2 separate regions of the Homo sapiens genome follow, and region 2 is linked to region 1. Evidence: promoter capture Hi-C in 16 types of primary human blood cells and fetal thymus (Javierre and others, 2016). All regions are on one chromosome and are shown on one strand. Each heading gives the region's core, a stretch centred on a gene start or on the middle of the fragment in contact. The rest is flanking DNA. Distances are from core to core; before and after follow the strand shown.

Evidence for each region. Contacts are between HindIII fragments. The CHiCAGO score rates a contact against its expected background, and 5 or more counts as called.
Region 2: a contact is called between a fragment that was not itself captured here and the fragment with the promoter of FARP2 in region 1, in 1 of 17 cell types (neutrophils). The highest score is 6.7, in neutrophils.

What each region holds. Positions count from the first base shown.
Region 1 is chr2:241,355,035-241,358,837 of GRCh38, reverse strand. FARP2 (FERM, ARH/RhoGEF and pleckstrin domain protein 2) reads right to left here and starts at 2,553. Exons shown (of 27, transcript NM_014808.4): 1 at 2,450-2,553. RefSeq lists a silencer at 2,216-2,765. The HindIII fragment of the contact is 16,715 bases long and covers 1-3,803 here.
Region 2 is chr2:241,677,894-241,682,103 of GRCh38, reverse strand. It overlaps DTYMK (deoxythymidylate kinase), which reads left to right. Exons shown (of 5, transcript NM_012145.4): 3 at 1,785-1,875; 4 at 3,455-3,652. Among named protein-coding and RNA genes, the nearest start is that of DTYMK, 6.8 kb to the left of the region's middle. The HindIII fragment of the contact is 1,700 bases long and covers 1,729-3,428 here.

The DNA.
Region 1 (3,803 bases), core at 1,304-3,803:
TTTATCATATTGCTTTGTAGGATCCTCAACTTTTCAACTCCCTGTGGCATTGACAAATACGCTATGGTCAAAGGACTCTATATTCTGATCTCAGAGAACATGACCGGAATTACCTCAGCTCAGTATCCAACACTACAATGGGGTTTTGCCTGTATATCTAGCACTATGCTGTGTTTATGAAGCTCATGACGCACTGAGTAAAGGGGAAGCTGGCAAGCTGATATGAAAGTGGGTGAAGGAAAAATAAGAACAAAACTGAAAGGACAAGCAGCAGTAAGAAAAATCTGTTACTGTCCGAATATAGAAGAGGTATTGATGTGACTAGAAGCAGGGGTGTTTGGAAAGGAAGGAAGCAACTGAATTCTTTGGGCCAAATGGATTTAAATGAGCTCACATGGAATTGCCCATGCATTGATCTTTGCTTTGGCAATCCAGTTCATACCATTCCCTCTAAACAGGATAAATTTGCTTAATTATTGCCTAATTTTTTCTCTACTGTTTTTTGTAAATATCCAGGGTTAGCTTGTTCTACTTTCTACTCGGATTATTTGTCCACCTGATAATAATAATGGCTAACATTTATTAAGCACTTACCTTGTGCCAGGCATCTTGTTAACACAGCTTTTTTTATTTATTTTTTTATTTTTTTGAGACAGAGTCTCGCTCTGTCGCCCAGGATGAAGTGCAGTGGCACAATCTTGGCTCAATGCAACCTCCACCTCCTGGGTTCAAGTGATTCTCGTGCCTCAGCCTCTCAAGTAGCTATGATTACAGGCGTGCGCCACCAGCCCAGCTAATTTTTGTATTTTTAGTAGAGATGGGGTTTCGCCCTGTTGAGCAGGCTGGTCTGGAACCCCTGAGCTCATGCAATCTGCCTGCCTCGGCCTCCCAAAGTGCTGGGATTACAGCCACTGTGCCTGGCCAAGTAAATTTTAAACTCATTTTTTGAATAAGGAACCTGAGGCAGAGAGAAATGAATACACCTTATATCAACTTCCTCTTTGGGAAAGGAATTAGTATACAAGGAACCTGGAAATTTACTAACGACTGATAGTCCTATAGGTAAATAAGCCAGCAAACGTCTGCAGTCCAGGAAACTGCATCATCAGCATTTAGTTTGTTAACAGTGAACCACCTAATGAGAATCTGCAACAAGGATAGGGCACATGAGAAGTACAGATGGTATTTGCAAGTACCCTAGGTGTGACCCTAAACTGGTCATTCCACCTCTCTCAACCTCCCTTTCCTCTACTTTAAAACGGGGCTGTGCAACTTGGTCATGTCTCTGAAGAGTTTTGGAAAACTGAATAAATAACGAGCATGAAGTGCTTCCTAAACCTTTAAGGACCTCAAAAAACAAAACAAAACAAAACTTTCAACAAGCAGATGTAGAAAATTTAAATTATATTTGGCCTACAAGTAAAGGTTACTCCATGCTTCCCTACCTCAAATGTCCTCTCCCATCTCTCTGGTACTGAGAAAATCTGTGTCGCCTGTTATAAGGCAGTCTACACAAGACCAACACGCTAACCCACTGCCACCTCAGGGTTATCAAACATTTACACAGTGGCCCAGACAAAAATATCCCACGGAAACAAAACAAAAACAAAAACCCAGAGAGAAAAACCACCCTTTAAAGATTTGGCCTTGGGTTTTAAATTTGCCCATCCCTTTTTAACACTATGTATTGACAATCTTTCCTTCAATGATGCCTTGTTCTAATTTCTGCTTTTCACATCCATTAATGGCACATGATAGGCCAGGGGTTGCTGCCATAGCGTAAACGGAAAAGGTGCCCGTAATTCGGGTGTGTAATGTACTGGGCCATATTCTGGTCCCCAGTTTTCATGGGTTTCCCAAAGGCTACCCACTGGCTTATGAGTATTTCTAGCCCTTAGTGGAGTAAAAATATTAACACCTAACACTTGATTCCCACCTTTAAGATACAATTTAAAGAAATGCTAAAAAGGCAAACGGCTCAAAATGCCTCCACCAGGCACCTCCAGGCCCATACCCTGCGGGTCCCTATGGCCCACTCTGGGGTGTCCTTCCGGGATGGGACACTCCCCGGCCCACGGCCCTGCCGGCCTCCACGGGGCACAACTCAACCCGCGAGTCCACGCGGGACACTCCCCGGTCTACAGCCCCACCGGCCTCCTCCACGCGGCACCCCTCAACCCGGGAGTCCACGCGGGCCACTCCCCGGCCCACCGCCCCGCCTGCCCCCACGCGGCAGGCTCCCTACAGACGGACGCTCCTCTAACCCGGACCCGCCTAGGAGCTCCAGCCGCCTCACGATGGCCTTCAGAGGCCGGGCGGGACCATCTCTGGTGGACCGCGGCCTCAGCGCCCCCCCCGCCTGGGCCTCTCGCCTCGGGCCTCGGGCTTCGCCGCCCACCCGGAGAGGCCCACCCCTGCCCCACGCGCCCAGGCCGCTTCACGTCCTCACCCTCGGCCTCTCGCTCGCCCGCCGCGTCCTCACCGGCCTCGCCCGGCCTCCGCAGTCGCAAGCAGCAGCCGCCAGACTCGCGTCGGCGTCGCCTGCTCCCAACTGCCCGCCGGCAGCCCCCGCGCAGCGCGCCCCGCCCTGACCCCGCCCCCGCGACGCGGACGCGCAGTCGATTGGCCTGCGGGGCGCCAGGGCGGAGCCTTCCCGTCCCGCGGCCTGAAAGCGCAAGATCGAGTTCTGATTGGTGAACGGACGGAGAAGGGGCGGGAGCAGGCAGGCAGCTGCGTAGGATATAAATCTGTGCAGCGCTCGGCTCGTTGGGCGGGGCGTCGGCTTGCTGAGCGAGGCAATGTCCTAGGCGAAGCCAAGGCTCGCTGGGCGGGGCTAGATCTTGGGCGGGGAGTCGGCTCGTTGGGTGGGGCTAGGTCCTGGGCGGGGAGTCGGCTCGCTGGGCGGGGCTAGGTCCTGGGCGGGGAGTCGGCTCGCTGGGCGGGGCTAGGTCCTGGGCGGGGAGTCGGCTCGCTGGGCGGGGCTAGGTCCTGGGCGGGGAGTCGGCTCGCTGGGCGGGGCTAGGTCCTGGGCGGGGAGTCGGCTCGCTGGGCGGGGCTAGGTCCTGGGCGGGGAGTCGGCTCGCTGGGCGGGGCTAGGTCCTGGGCGGGGAGTCGGCTCGCTGGGCGGGGCTAGGTCCTGGGCGGGGAGTCGGCTCGCTGGGCGGGGCTAGGTCCTGGGCGGGGAGTCGGCTCGCTGGGCGGGGCTAGGTCCTGGGCGGGGAGTCGGCTCGCTGGGCGGGGCTAGGTCTTGGGCGAGGTCTAGGCTCGCTGGGCGCGGATAGGTGCTGGGCGAGGCCTAGGCTTGCTGGGCGCGGATAGGTGCTGGGCGAGGCCTAGGCTTGCTGGGCGCGGATAGGTGCTGGGCGAGGCCTGGCTCGCTGGGCGGGGATAGGTCTTGGCCCGGGCCTTGCCGGCTGTCCTTGCACCCTTTGGCTCAGTCCCTGGCTGCCAGCCTCCTCCTTCCTCCAACGCATTGCATCCCTCGTGGGACTACAGGGACCGAAGGGGATCATCGAAGGATCGCGCGAGGCTGTGCTAAGGCTGAGACAGGCTGCTCCGTGGTGGCGGCCAGGACGGCCTTCCTCTGGCCTAGGGACCCCCACCCGAGAATGGAAGACTGACTTGCTGTGGCACACTTCCCTTCTCTTGAGAAGTTCATTGAACTCCTATGTGTTCTTCAAGACCCTACCCATCGTGCTCTCCTAGCCCGGCCCTGTCACCCACTGTCACCATGTGGCTGTTGAGGGAATAATTAACTTCAGGAAACACCCGGGCACTTAAGAGACTCCTCCTATGGTGCTGTG
Region 2 (4,210 bases), core at 1,329-3,828, 320 kb before region 1:
GTTTCCCAAAGTGCTGTGATTAGAGGCATGAGCCACCCTGCCTGGCCTTATTTTTTTTTAGGAGAAATGTCTTGCTCTGTTGCCCAGGCTGGAATGTTGTGGCATGATCACAGCTTACTGCAGCCTTAAACTCCTGGGTTCAAGTGATCCTCCTGCCTCAGCCTCTGGAGTAGCTAGGACTACAGGTGCGTGCCACTATCCCTGGCTAATTTTTACATTTTTTGTAGAGATGGGGTCTCACTATTGTTACTCAGGCTGGTCTCAAACACCTGGCCTCAAGGGATCCATCCCGCCAAATGGCTTCCAAAAGTGCTGGGCTCACAGGCATGAGCCACCACGTCCGGCTGTCCTTTCCTTCTCTTGACAGTGTCTCTCACAAAGCACAAAGTTATTATTTTCGTGAAGTCCATCTTAATCAATTCTCTCATGGGCTGTGCCTTTGGTTTTGTATCTAAACAGTCTGCCAAACCCCAGGTGATCTAAGTTTTCTCCTGTGTTACTGTCTAGGAGTTGCATAGTTTTGCATTTTACATTTGGGTCTGTGATTCATTTTGTCTTTTTTTTCCCCCACTTTTTGTGGAGAACGGGGTCTCACTATATTGCCCAGGCAGGTCTCGAGCTCCTGGGCTCAAGCAATCCTCCTGCCTCTGCCTCCTTGAAAGCTGGGATTACAGGCGTGAGCCACCGTGCCAGGCCTGTGATTCATTTTGAATTTATGTTCGTGGAGGGTATACGGTCTGGTCTAGATTTATTCTCTTTCATGAGGATGTCCAGTTGTTCCAGCAGCGTTTATTGAGGAAAATGCCTTTGCACCATTGCATCCCTCTGCTGCTTTGTCAGAGGCCAGTTGACTCCTTATGTGGGTGCCCCTGTGATTTGAAGGCCCCAGTGAGACTGGCTGAGTCGAATGAATCGGACTTTTCTTTCTCTGTCTTGAGCAGTGCTTCTCACTAGTGTCAGGCCCCGTGTCTTTGTACATCTGTGATCTTGGCAGCTGTAGGGATGATGGTGGACTTGTGGTATTTGGCTGAGAACATCCTTGCAGTCCAGGCTAGGGGTCATGAGCATGGATGAGTCACCTGCTGGCTGTGCCCACGCTTCCCCCGCCACCATCCTCTGCTCTCTTCTTTGCCTGTGCTTTCTTCTTCCTCGACAGGGTAGAGCTGGCCTCTCTGACCAAGACAGCTGACAGTGCATCTCCTTTCCCCTGCCGTGTTTCTGGAACATTGAACTTTACCAGTTGTGTTTGTTACTATTTAGTAAGGTTATCTTCTCCATGTTGGGTTTTGCTGGAGGTGTGGGTATGGCATCTTCTAGAGAAGATCCAGACCTTTTTGGATTAAAAGTAAGGTTACAAATCACTGTGCTGTACTTGTTGTCATATGAGATTTCTGAGTTGTATTGTTGGGATAATTTTCTTTTTCTTTTTTTGAGATGGAGTCTCGCTGTGTCACCCAGGCTGGAATGCAGTGGTGTGATCTCGGCTCACTGCAACCTCCACCTCCTGGGTTCAAGCAATTCTCCTGCCTCAGCCTCCCGAGTAGCTGGGATTACAGGTGCCTGCCACCATGTCCAGCTAATATTTTGTATTAGTAGAGACAGGGTTTCACCATGTTAGCCAGGATGGTCTCGATCTCCTGACCTTGTGATCCGCCCGCCTCAGCCTCCCAAAGCGCTGGGATTATAGGGGTGAGCCACTGCGCACAGCCTGTTGGGATAATTTAAGCTTGACAGTTCAAGGCCTATGAAACAGGACCAGGGCTCAGGAGCATCCTCTTTTTCAGGCCGTTAATTAAGGAAAAGTTGAGCCAGGGCGTGACCCTCGTCGTGGACAGATACGCATTTTCTGGTGTGGCCTTCACCGGTGCCAAGGAGGTGAGTGCCACTTGGCCTCCTGTCAGGCGAGCACAGATGTGTGGACCCAGGACTGCCCTTGAATGCGAGTACGAGTGACATGCCTCAGATTACTCTGCAGAGTTTCGTGATTCTTATATTCCTTTTATCTCTTTGCTAGATTAATTTGGTTTTATCAATAAGAAGAGCAAACATTTATGTAGCTAGAGATTGTTTCACAGATAGAACCATAGTTGGTATTTGGATTATATTTTCCACACGCTTTTTTTTTTTTTTTTGGGGAGACAGTCTCTCATTCTGTCACCCAGGCTGGAGTGCAGTGGCACGATCTCAGCTCATTGCAACCTCTGCCTCCTGAGTTCAAGCGATTATCCTGCCTCAGTCTCCCGAGTATCTGGGATTATAGGCATGCACCACCGTGCCCAGCTAATTTTCATACTTTTAGTAGAGACGGGGTTTTACCATGTTGGCCAGGCTGGTCTCAAACTCCTGACCTCAAGTGATCCACTCATCTCAGCCTCCCAAAGTGCTAGGATTACAGGCATGAGCCACTGCACCCAGCCTCCAGATGCATTTTCAAAGATGGTTCATTTGTAGTACTTTTTTCCCCCGTTTTTTGAAAGAGGGCGTCTCCCTCTGTTGCCCAGGCTGGAGTACAGTGGAACAAGCAAAGCTCGCTATAACAACTCTTGGGCCCAAGTGATCCTCCCGCTTCAGCCTCCCAAAGTGCTGGGATTACAGGCGCGAGCCACCGTGCCCGGCCACGCCCTCACTTTTTAATTCTGCCATTTCTTCATGTGTTAGCTTGAGTCCTTCCCCTCTGAAGTATTACGTTGTATAATAAGGAGGACAAGACTCATGATTCCTTTGCTTCTTCCTGCTGTGCGGATCAGCTGACAGAGCCGCAGGCTCTGTGGGAGGTTCTCGTGGACGCCTTCCCTCAGCTCATTGTGCTGTTGTGTGATGTGTGGCCTGCAGTCACAGCCTTTCTGGTCCTACCTTTCCTCCGGAAACAGGACAGCATTTGGAGGGAGATGGGATGAGTAAGGGAGGGAGAGAGGGTGCTGGCACAGCCCTGGCAAGAAGGGCCAGTGGATGAGACTAGGCTGGCACATAACAGGCTCTAGGAGTGCCTGTCTTCTTCCTGCTCTTCCACGGGAGAGGAGACCCTGGCGTGTGTGTGGCAGAAAAGACACTGCCAAGGACCTCGTGCCTGTGTCCGGACCCAGCTGCTCTGTGCTGCAGGCGTTCTAGGCCGGGGGTCTCCAGGGGTTCTGTACATAGACTGTTTGCTCCTGGCCAGCAGGCCTGTAGCTGTGCTGGGAGGGCCTCCATGGGGCCTGGGCTGTGGGTGGCGGGGACTGGCAGCCGTTCTATCTACCTACTTTTCTGTCCACTTGTCTGTTTACAAAGGAAAAACAAAGGTGACACTGGAGAAACCGACACGTTTGAGGTTCTAAAAATTAAACGAGCCACAATATAAACAGTCTCACATCTTGGTACCTCACCAAATGTCCCCTCATTTTTTCCTGTTTTTACGACTTTCGAAACAAAAACCTAGACTACACTAAGCTTTAACTGTTGGGTTCTTTCTTGGCAGAATTTTTCCCTAGATTGGTGTAAACAGCCAGACGTGGGCCTTCCCAAACCCGACCTGGTCCTGTTCCTCCAGTTACAGCTGGCGGATGCTGCCAAGCGGGGAGCGTTTGGCCATGAGCGCTATGAGAACGGGGCTTTCCAGGAGCGGGCGCTCCGGTGTTTCCACCAGCTCATGAAAGACACGACTTTGAACTGGAAGGTGAGAATCCCAGAATTGCACACTAGGAAGCGTGGAGAAGTGGCTCAGGATGACACCGTGGTGGCTGGCACAGTTGTGTCAGCAAAGCTGCTGCCGTTTCCGTCTGGTCCTCCCAGATGTGGAGCCCCGGGAGTAGTCGTTCAGGGGTTCTCGGTGCCAGCAAATTCTTTTTTTTTTGAGACAGAATCTTGCTCTGGGTGCCAACCCAGGCTGGAGTGCAATGGCACGATCTCAGCTCACTGCAACCTCCGCTTCTTGGGTTCAAGTGATTCTCCTGCCTCAGCCTCCCGAGTAGCTGGGATTACAGGCACGTGCCATCATGCCTGGCTAATTTTTTTTGTAGAGATGGGGTTTCTCCACGTTGGTCAGGCTGGTCTCCAACTCCTGACCTCAGGTGATCTGCCCACCTCGGCCTCCCAAAGTGCTGGGATTATAGGCATGAGCCATCGCGCCCGGCCAGTGCCAGCAAATTCTAACCCGATGAGTTTTGCTAAATGTTGACATTTGGCGCTTTGTCTGGTGGGTCAGGTGAGAGTCTGCGCAATCCTCCACATCCTC